2 separate regions of the Homo sapiens genome follow, and region 1 is linked to region 2. Evidence: promoter capture Hi-C in human tissues and cell types (Jung and others, 2019). All regions are on one chromosome and are shown on one strand. Each heading gives the region's core, a stretch centred on a gene start or on the middle of the fragment in contact. The rest is flanking DNA. Distances are from core to core; before and after follow the strand shown. Region 1 overlaps ZNF33A (zinc finger protein 33A). Region 2 holds the start of ZNF37A (zinc finger protein 37A).

Region 1 (4,182 bases), core at 1,544-4,043, 36 kb after region 2:
ACTGGTGGTTCTGTCCAAGAAGCCTTTGCCATAATATGGAACCTGTCAGTTAGCTAAGAGCAGTTAGTTAAAATTGGACTGGATGACCCTGGCTTCGGATGGGCCATCCTGTTTATGCCAATGGTTGTAACTGCTTCCTTTTCACCCTGATGGTGAAGGAAGGATCCCCACCCCAATGCTATAGAAAGGTTGAACACTGAACGCCTGACACTGGACAGATAAGATCTAGGTGAGTTTGTCAGTCACACCAACTCTCAGAAAGGTGAGAAGGACACCACATGCTGGGAAGAGCCACACAGGGTTCGACTAGGGAGCAGAGTGGAAAAGGAGGGGTTGTGGCGAGCAGCTGTATTATCCAGAGTACAGTGACCACTGTTTGCTGTGGGAGGATGTGAGGGGTTTGGTGATAATTCCAAGAGCTGGCAGGGAAGCAAATCTTACTACTTAGGAATAAGCAGGAATTGTGCCTGGCCCCCCTGACAAGGAGGACTGTCTGCTAAGTTACCTCACCTGTGGAAGCAGAGTGGGGATGGAAATGAGGTTAGGTCATTTGAGGCCCTATTGGCTTCAGATGTCAAGAGAACCAAAAATACTAGTCCTTAATTTCAGGTCACAGTTACCATAATTTAAAATATATTAAGGATGTACAAAAGCAATTCAATTGTTCACTAATGATGATTTACATGTTCAGTCAGAAACATACAACTAACAAAAGAACACCTTAGTACAGAAACAAGATGTTCCTCAGGGTTGGTTGGTTGGTTATTTATTTACTTGATACACTTCATTTTTTAGAGTAGCTTTAGGGTTACAGAAAGTTGAGCAAAAAGTATAGAGAATTCTCATATAACCCTTTCCCCTCCCATCTTCCACAGGCTCCCCAATCATTAACATCTTGCATCATTATGGTTCATTTGTTACAATTAATGAGCCAACAGTGATACATTATTATTAACTGAAGTCCAGAGTTGACATTAGGGTTTACTCTGTGTTTTCCGTTCACTGTTTTCCATTCTCTGCGTTTTGACAAATTACAGTACCCTAGAGAGTACTTTCACTGCCTTAAAAATCACCTCTCTACCTGCCATCCCTCCTTTCCCCTCAACTCTCAGCAACCACTGGTCCTTTCACTGGCTCAATAGTTTTGCCTCTCCCAAAATGTCATATAATTGCAATCATACAAAATAGAAAGCCTTTTCAGATTGGTTTTCACTTAACAATAAGCATTTAGGGTTTCTCCGTGTCTTTTAATGACTTGATGTCCAATTCCTTTTTATCATCTACCTGAGGACTGTATCCTGCAATCCTGCTGTAATTGCTTATTAATGTCAGCAGGGTTTTTGTTATTTAGAATTCTCTACAAAGACAATCATGTTACTTGTGAACAAAGTTGTATTTCATCCTTTCAAATCTATGTGCATTTTATTTCTTTTTTTTTTAACACTGCATTATATAGCACTTCCAGTACAATGCTGAAAAGCAGTGGTGTGGTGTTCCTTGCCATGTTCCTGATCTTAGTAGGAAAGTGTCTAGTTGGAAACATCAAGGATAATGTTAGCTGTAGGGTTTTTTGTAGTATGTTCTTTACCAACTTGAGTAAGTTCTCCTGTATTCCTTCTGTGTTGAGAGGTTTTAACATGAATGGATATTGGATTTTGTCAAATGCTTTTTCTGTACCTATTGATATGATCGTATTTCATCTTTGAGCTGCTAATGCATGCAATGGATTACACTGAATATCAAATGTTGAACAAGCCTTGCATTCCTGATTTGCTAATATTTTGAGGATTTCTGCATCTGTGTTCAATGGAAATATTGATCTGTAGTTTTCCTTTCTTGTAATATCTTTGCCTGGTTTTGCTATTAGGGTAATACTGGCCTCACAAAATGAGTTGGGAAGTGTTATCTCTGCTTTTATTTTCTGAAAGAGATGGTAGAGACTTGGTATCATTTCTACCTTAAGTATCTCAAAAACACATCAGTGAACCCAGCTGGTCCTGGCACTTTGTTTTGGAAAGTTTCATTATTATTTTTTGAGATGCAGTCTCATTCTGTCACCCAGGCTGCAGTACAGTGGCACAATCTCAGCTCACTGCAACATCCACCTCCCAGGTTCAAGTGATTCTTCTGCCTCAGCCTCCTGAGTAGCTTCGACTACACACGCATGCCACCATGCCCAGCTAATTTTTTGTATTTTTAGTAGATAGGGGGTTTCACCATGTTGACCAGGCTGGTCTCGAACTCCTGACCTTGTGATCCACCCGCCTCAGCCTCCCAAAGTGAAGTGCTGGGATTACAGGCATGAACCACTGTACCTGGCCTTGGAAGGTTATTAATTACTGCTTTGGTTTATTTAATAGATACATATGCCTATTGAGGTCTATCTTGTGTGAGCTTTGAGAGAATGCGTCTTGCAAGGAATTGGTCCATTTTAGCTAAGTTATCAAATTTATGGACAGAGTTGTCCATGTTTCTTTCTAATCCTTTTGGTGACCATAGGATTAGCTGTGATGGCCTCTTTCATTTTTGGTATTAGCAATATTTGTCTTCTGTTTGTTCTTAAGCTAGCTAGAGGTTTATCAATTTTACTGACCTTTTCAAGGAACCAGTTTTGGGTTTTATCGATTTTCTCTTTTCAATTTCAATGATTTTTACTCTAATGTTTTTTCAGGTTACTTTGGATTTAATTTGCTCTTCTTTTTCTAGTTTCCTAAAGTGGAAGCTTAGATTACTTGTGTAATCTAGGATCACTAGACTGTATAATCTTAGATTATTTGTATGATCTGATCATGTAATATAGTGTACAATCTTCACACTATCAATAAAAGCCCCACACCAGCTTGATTCTGGTTCTGCTCCAGCCTCAACCCTCCTCTTCATATTCTCAAAAGTCTGAGGGCCCAGATCCCTGTCTGGGGACAATGAGCCTTGAAATGACAGTCCAACAGCCCTGGGCAGCCCTGGGCTGTATGTGTGGGCCTTTCCAGGGCCCTGTCTTGGAGAGCAGCTGCTTAAAGAAAATTTGGACTACCACTTATGCTGAAGGCTGGAATGTTCACATATGTACCCTAGGCACTTCATGGCATGGCATGAGCCACAGGTAGGAAGAGAAAGGGAGTAACATGGAGGCGAGCCTAGATCTTCACATGTACAGGATAGATTTTTTTTAGATAATTTGTTATTTTGATTTATACCTTTTAAATGGATAAACATTAGCTCTGTGGGTCTCCTTTTAAATTGTTTCAGGACATCACAAACATCTGGGATGGGCCTGATAATGTAACCACTACTAAACTAGGATACCTACTTCCTATTCACAATTACGTTAAATTCCATTATGCATATGAAACACACGATTTATATCACATACCACTTATACATATATAAGTCTTTTGAACTTCAGGGATAATTCGCAGATGTGCTTAATGCTATTGCCCTGATTATTCAATTTATCTGTGCTTTAAAAAAACTTCATAGTCAAGTGGATGCAAGGGATAGGGTTGCAGAAAGCGTGTGGTTATTAATACAAAAAGGGAACTACTTGAGGCTAAATCCTTTGTAATCCTGATACAGTACAGATCTCAGATTCCTTTTCAGTTCTGTAAACTAATCGTGTTGATGGTTACTCAAATGTAAAAGTCGTAAAAGTTTGATATAACCACACACACACACATACACGTACACACACACACAGAGTGCATGCAAACCATAGTAAAATCTGACTAAGTCTCTATCTACCAGCAAGGTAACATCGATTTCTTGGACTTGACCATATACTATGATTATACATTATCCTTAGAGGAAGTTTGGTGAAGTGTACATGGGAATTCTCTCTACTCATTAAACTTCTTGTGAGGTTATTTTAATTATTACCTTTGTTTAAGTTCTTAAAGCTTTACATTCCACAATATACATCTATAAATTATTGTTAGGTGCCCTAAAAACTATTATGGCATCAAACTCAAAACATAACTTGTCGTATTTTATTTCTAAGCAAAATTTTCACTTTAGATTTCTTAAATTGACAATTTTCTCCTCAGTGTAAATTCTAACATAACCTTATTTGCATTTTTGCCAAAAACTTTCACAAATTCAAAAAAAATCTGTAAGGTGTTATGCCCGTATTAACCATCTGATATTACATAGAATATCACTTCCTAACAAAAGCTGTCCTATAATTGT
Region 2 (4,491 bases), core at 31-2,530:
GTACCTCTGATTCTGTAAGATCAAGATGGGGGCATCCGTACATCTCTAGTTGTGCTGCAGTGCGCCAGCAGCTCAGCATCTAGAACGAGCGAGTAACGAATCCAGGCATGGAGGGTGCTGTCCTCCACTTGGCTGCTAAGCTCTTCCCTCCGCATGATGCCTTCACAACTCCCCAAGAAGCGGTGCTGTCTGCTCCTTCGGCCTTGCCCTCTTCTGCCCCCACATCTGAATGGGCACAAAGCTCCCAGCCTGTGGGGGTCTGGAAAGGACACAAATCGAGCCTCTGCTCCTCCCACCCGTGCTCTAGATCTCTAGTGAGGTGTCAGCCCAACGGGTTGGGTGTCCTCCTAGGAGGGCCCCTGGGCCCTCGCCCCCCACCCTTCCCTTCTTACCCCACAACAGCTGCTTTGCTCCAAGACAGCTGGGCCTAAGCCCTTTGGTTCGAATCCTCATTCAAGACAGAAAGCTCCTACATCTTCCTGTCACTTGAGCCATGAGCTGGACCCTCTGAAAATGCCCACTGGTGCTAATGGGGACACAGGCGAGGCTGGACAGTGCCGGAGGGCCTGGGGTGCCTCCCTCCGCGTGCGCGGCCTCACAGGTCAGTGGAAACAAGAAATTCCCCAATCCACAGCCACGATGACTTCAAAATACTTCCCGAAGACATCAGGCAATGAAGCTGCGACCTGCGAGGACACAGCAAGCCGAGTGACGCTGGCCAGAGGCTGGGTGTGGAGTCCGCGCCTGCAGGGTCCCTCCCCGCCCCGCGGGCGCTTCCCCCCACCCCATTCGCCTCGGCATCGCAGTGACACCGCGGCGACGCCGACCACAGGTGGTTGTGAGGACAGCGAGATTCTGAGGGGAAAGAATGAGAGAAGCGCGCATCTATTGGGCAGAAGGCCCGTTTCTGCGCCGTCCTGCGGAGGCCTCCGGGCATCCTTCACCTCAGGGAAGAGAAAATCCAACCTCACTTGTCACAGGCGCGGGACTTGCGCATTCCCTTTGGGAGCACAAGAACCGAGGCAGGATTCGGACCCAGGCCAGGCGGCAAAGGCGTTCCCTCTCTCCCACCCCCAGGCCGCGCGGAACCCCCAGTCCACCCTCGCCCCTGCCCTCCCTTACTCACCCTCCGCGTCCTCTACCCGGACGCCAGGAGATGCCGGGAGCCCTCCCCGTCAGAGTGCCGGGGAGAAAAACAAACCTGGAGCCATATGGCAGACATGCCCAGAAGGCCCGAAGCGGCTCCCGCGACGGGGGCCGAAAAGTGCACACTACATCTCCCACAAGTCCTCGCGCCGCTCCCTTAGAAAGTGCACGCTTCATTTCCCACAAGCCCTCGCGCCGCTCCCTTAGAAAGTGCAGACTACATTTCCCACAAGCCCTCGCGCCACTCCTTTTGAAAGGGCATGAGGTTTCAGCCGCATTGGGCAGTTAGTTCCCAGATGCGGCAAGTGCAGTACTGCAGTTTTATTCGTTAGCTGAAATAAATTATGAGTATTTAAATTACACAGCTTTCTCATGAATTACATCCCCCTGATGATTTGGCCGTCCTCAACACTTCCTCATTTGGCAGAATTCACGAGTGGAATTTCTCCAGACGAGGTCGGTTCCTGTGGCCCCGCGACGCTGCCGCAGCACCACCTACACTTGCGCCAGTGTGGAGAGCTTCACTTGCTCCTTTCTGGTCCATTGGACGCTAACCGTGAGAAAACACGCTGGACATGAGCATTACCAGCCTGTAAGCTGTCGTAAAGATAACTCGGAATTGCTCTTCAAATTTTATTTGTTAAACCACGTAATACCATCTTGCATGGCAAACATGCATTTTCCATTCTTCAGGAGTATGCAGGATCTCTTGATCACGATAACTTTTTAAAGTTCACAGGCAGAGGTAATACAGGAGTGGAAAACCAAAAACCGTAGGTTCTCACTTATAAGTGGGAGCTAAGCTATGAGTACGCAGAGGCATACAGAGTGATATAATGGACTTTAGAGACTCAGAAGGGGCTGGTAGGAAGGAGGCCGGAGGTTAAAAAAACTACACATGGCCAGGCGCGGTGGCTCACGCCTGTAGTCTCAGCACTTTGGGAGGCGGAGGCGGGTGGATCACGAAGTCAGGAGTTCAAGACCAGCCTAGGTAACACGGTGAAACCCCGTCTCCACTAAAACTACAAAATTAGCTGGGCGTGGTGGCACACACCTGCAGTCCCAGCTATTTGGGAGGCTGAGGCAGGGGAATCCCTTGAACTCGAGAGGTGGAGGTTGTAGTGAGCTGAAATCGCGCCATTGCACTTCAGCTTGGGCAACAAGAGCAAAACTCCATCTCAAAAATGAAAAAAAAAAAACTATACATTAGGTACAGTGTACACTACTCAGGTGACAGGTGCACTAAAATCTCAGAATCCACCACTTTATAATTCATCCATAACCAAAAACCACTTGTACTCCAAAAGCTATTGAAGTTTAAGTTAAAATAAAAATAAAAAATAAATGTCCACTGACCAAAAAAGAAGCATTTTTCTCCATTTCTATTCCCTTCTTTACCACCACTGATGATAATCCCACTTGTTCCCATGCTGGAAAAGCATTTAGTACCATCCATGTAAAAGAATCAAATTATTCAAGGGTTGAGATGCATTTCAGAAGACAGTCATGGTAAGTACAACAATGATTATCACTTCGAGACACAATTTATTTTCCTGCTCATAATGTTTTTTTTTTTTTTTTTTTTTTTTGAGATGGAGTCTGGCTCTGTAACCCAGGCTGGAGTGCAGTGACATGATCTCGGCTCACCGCAACCTCCGCCTCCTGGGTTCAAGCGACTCTCCTGCCTCAGCGTCCCAAGTAGCTGGGACTACAGGCTTGTGCCACCACACCCGGCTAATTTTTGTAATTTTAGTAGAGATCGGGTTTCACTGTGTTGGCCAGGCTGGTCTCGAACTCCTGACCTCGTGATCCGCCCGCTTCGGCCTCCCAAAGTGCTGGGATTACAGGCATGAGCCACTGCACCCAGCCTAATGCTTTTGCATTTTAAGAAACAGTCTTGACACTTGTGAATATTCCATTATTTCTTTTTTTTTTTTTTTTTAGACTGGATCTCATTCTGTCACCTGGGCTGCAGTGCAGTGCCAAGACCTCGGGTCACTGCAACCTCCGCCTCCCAGATTCAAGTGATTCTCCTGCCTCAGCCTCCCCAGTAGCTGGGATTACAGGCACATGCCACCACGCCCAGCTAATTTTTCCTGTTTTTAGTAGAGACTAGGTTTCACCATATTGACCAGGCTGGTCTCAAACTCCTGACCTCAATTGATCCATCCGCCTCAGCCTGCCAAAGTGCTGAGATTACAGATGTGAGCCACCTCTCCTGCCCTCCATTATTTCTTTAATGCATTCAGGTTCCATTATGCCATGGATTATTTCAGTAACATTGTTTGCTCTTCTTTCAATTTGCATAATCCTATCCCTAAAGAGATTGAAAACTAGGGACATGCCACTCTTAGGCTCCTTGGGACTCGACACATCCTCCTGGGATCATCTCAGGAAGGGGACTGGCTGTGCAGGCACCATGGAGGTGGTGCTGATATTCCTATGCAGCCTGTTGGCCCTCATTGTCATGGCCAGTGCAGCTGAGTAGGAGAAGGAAATTGACCATTTTCATTATGACTAACAGACCCTGAGGATTCAGGGGTTGGTATGTGCTGTGGTCCTCTTCTCCGTTGGGATCTTCCTTATCCTAGGTTGCAGATGCAAGTGGAGTTTCAATCAGAAGCCCGGGACCCCAGGGGAGGAGGAAGCCCAGGTGGAGAACCTCATCACTGCAAATGCAGCAAAACTCCAGAAAGCAGAGAGCTGAATGAAGTGCAGCCCTCCAGTGGGAAGCCTCCGGAACCTGAAGGCAGCTGCTTGAACTTTTAGATGCAAATATTGATGCTTAAGAAAACAGCCACTTCAGCAACAAATCTTTCCAGAAGAGAAGCCAAGAACTTTTTTGTCCTGCCATGCCCTTCCCTGTCCCCTCTAACACCATTCCTCCACCTGATGATCCAACTAATCTCTTGCCTCACCACTGCAGCCTGCAGGCTCCTCCAACTCGTGTTATGTGTCTGTGTGTGTGTTTGCTGACTATAGTGTTCATGGCTACTTGTTCATGGTGATTATAGTTAGTGAACTGTGGACTCACTTTCCTGGGCAGGGGCTGAGCCATGTGGCCGTCTGCTCCTCTCTGCCCCCCATCACCTCTCACTCCTGGGAGTCTGCTTTTTTCCCTGGAGAGTCTAGCTCCTTCCCTTTAGAGCATGGGCAGGAGTCTCCAGCTGTCTTGGGACCTGGGAAGGTTTGCACCACTTTCCTCATCTTTCTTCATGGAGTCTCTTCACTTCTTTTACAAGAACCTCACTTCCTTATCCCACTCCAACCCGTCTGTTCTGAAGATCAGCAATTGGAGATACAAAGCAAAGCAAGGAGTTTGTGAGCCCGGCATTACCTTCAGGA

What was found. Contacts are between HindIII fragments. The study calls those that stand out against the background at their distance.
Region 1: a contact is called between a fragment that was not itself captured here and the fragment with the promoter of ZNF37A in region 2, in 1 of the 25 tissues and cell types used here (dorsolateral prefrontal cortex).

Annotation. Positions count from the first base shown.
Region 1 is chr10:38,056,624-38,060,805 of GRCh38, reverse strand. ZNF33A (zinc finger protein 33A) reads right to left here. Exons shown (of 5, transcript NM_006954.2): 5 at 719-4,182. Among named protein-coding and RNA genes, the nearest start is that of ZNF37A, 36 kb to the left of the region's middle. The HindIII fragment of the contact is 5,674 bases long and covers 1-4,182 here.
Region 2 is chr10:38,091,126-38,095,616 of GRCh38, reverse strand. It overlaps ZNF37A (zinc finger protein 37A), which reads right to left and starts at 1,280. Exons shown (of 8, transcript NM_001324250.3): 1 at 1,127-1,280; 2 at 393-686; 3 at 1-79. It also overlaps the pseudogene FXYD6P2. RefSeq lists an enhancer at 1,137-1,326. The HindIII fragment of the contact is 17,106 bases long and covers 1-4,491 here.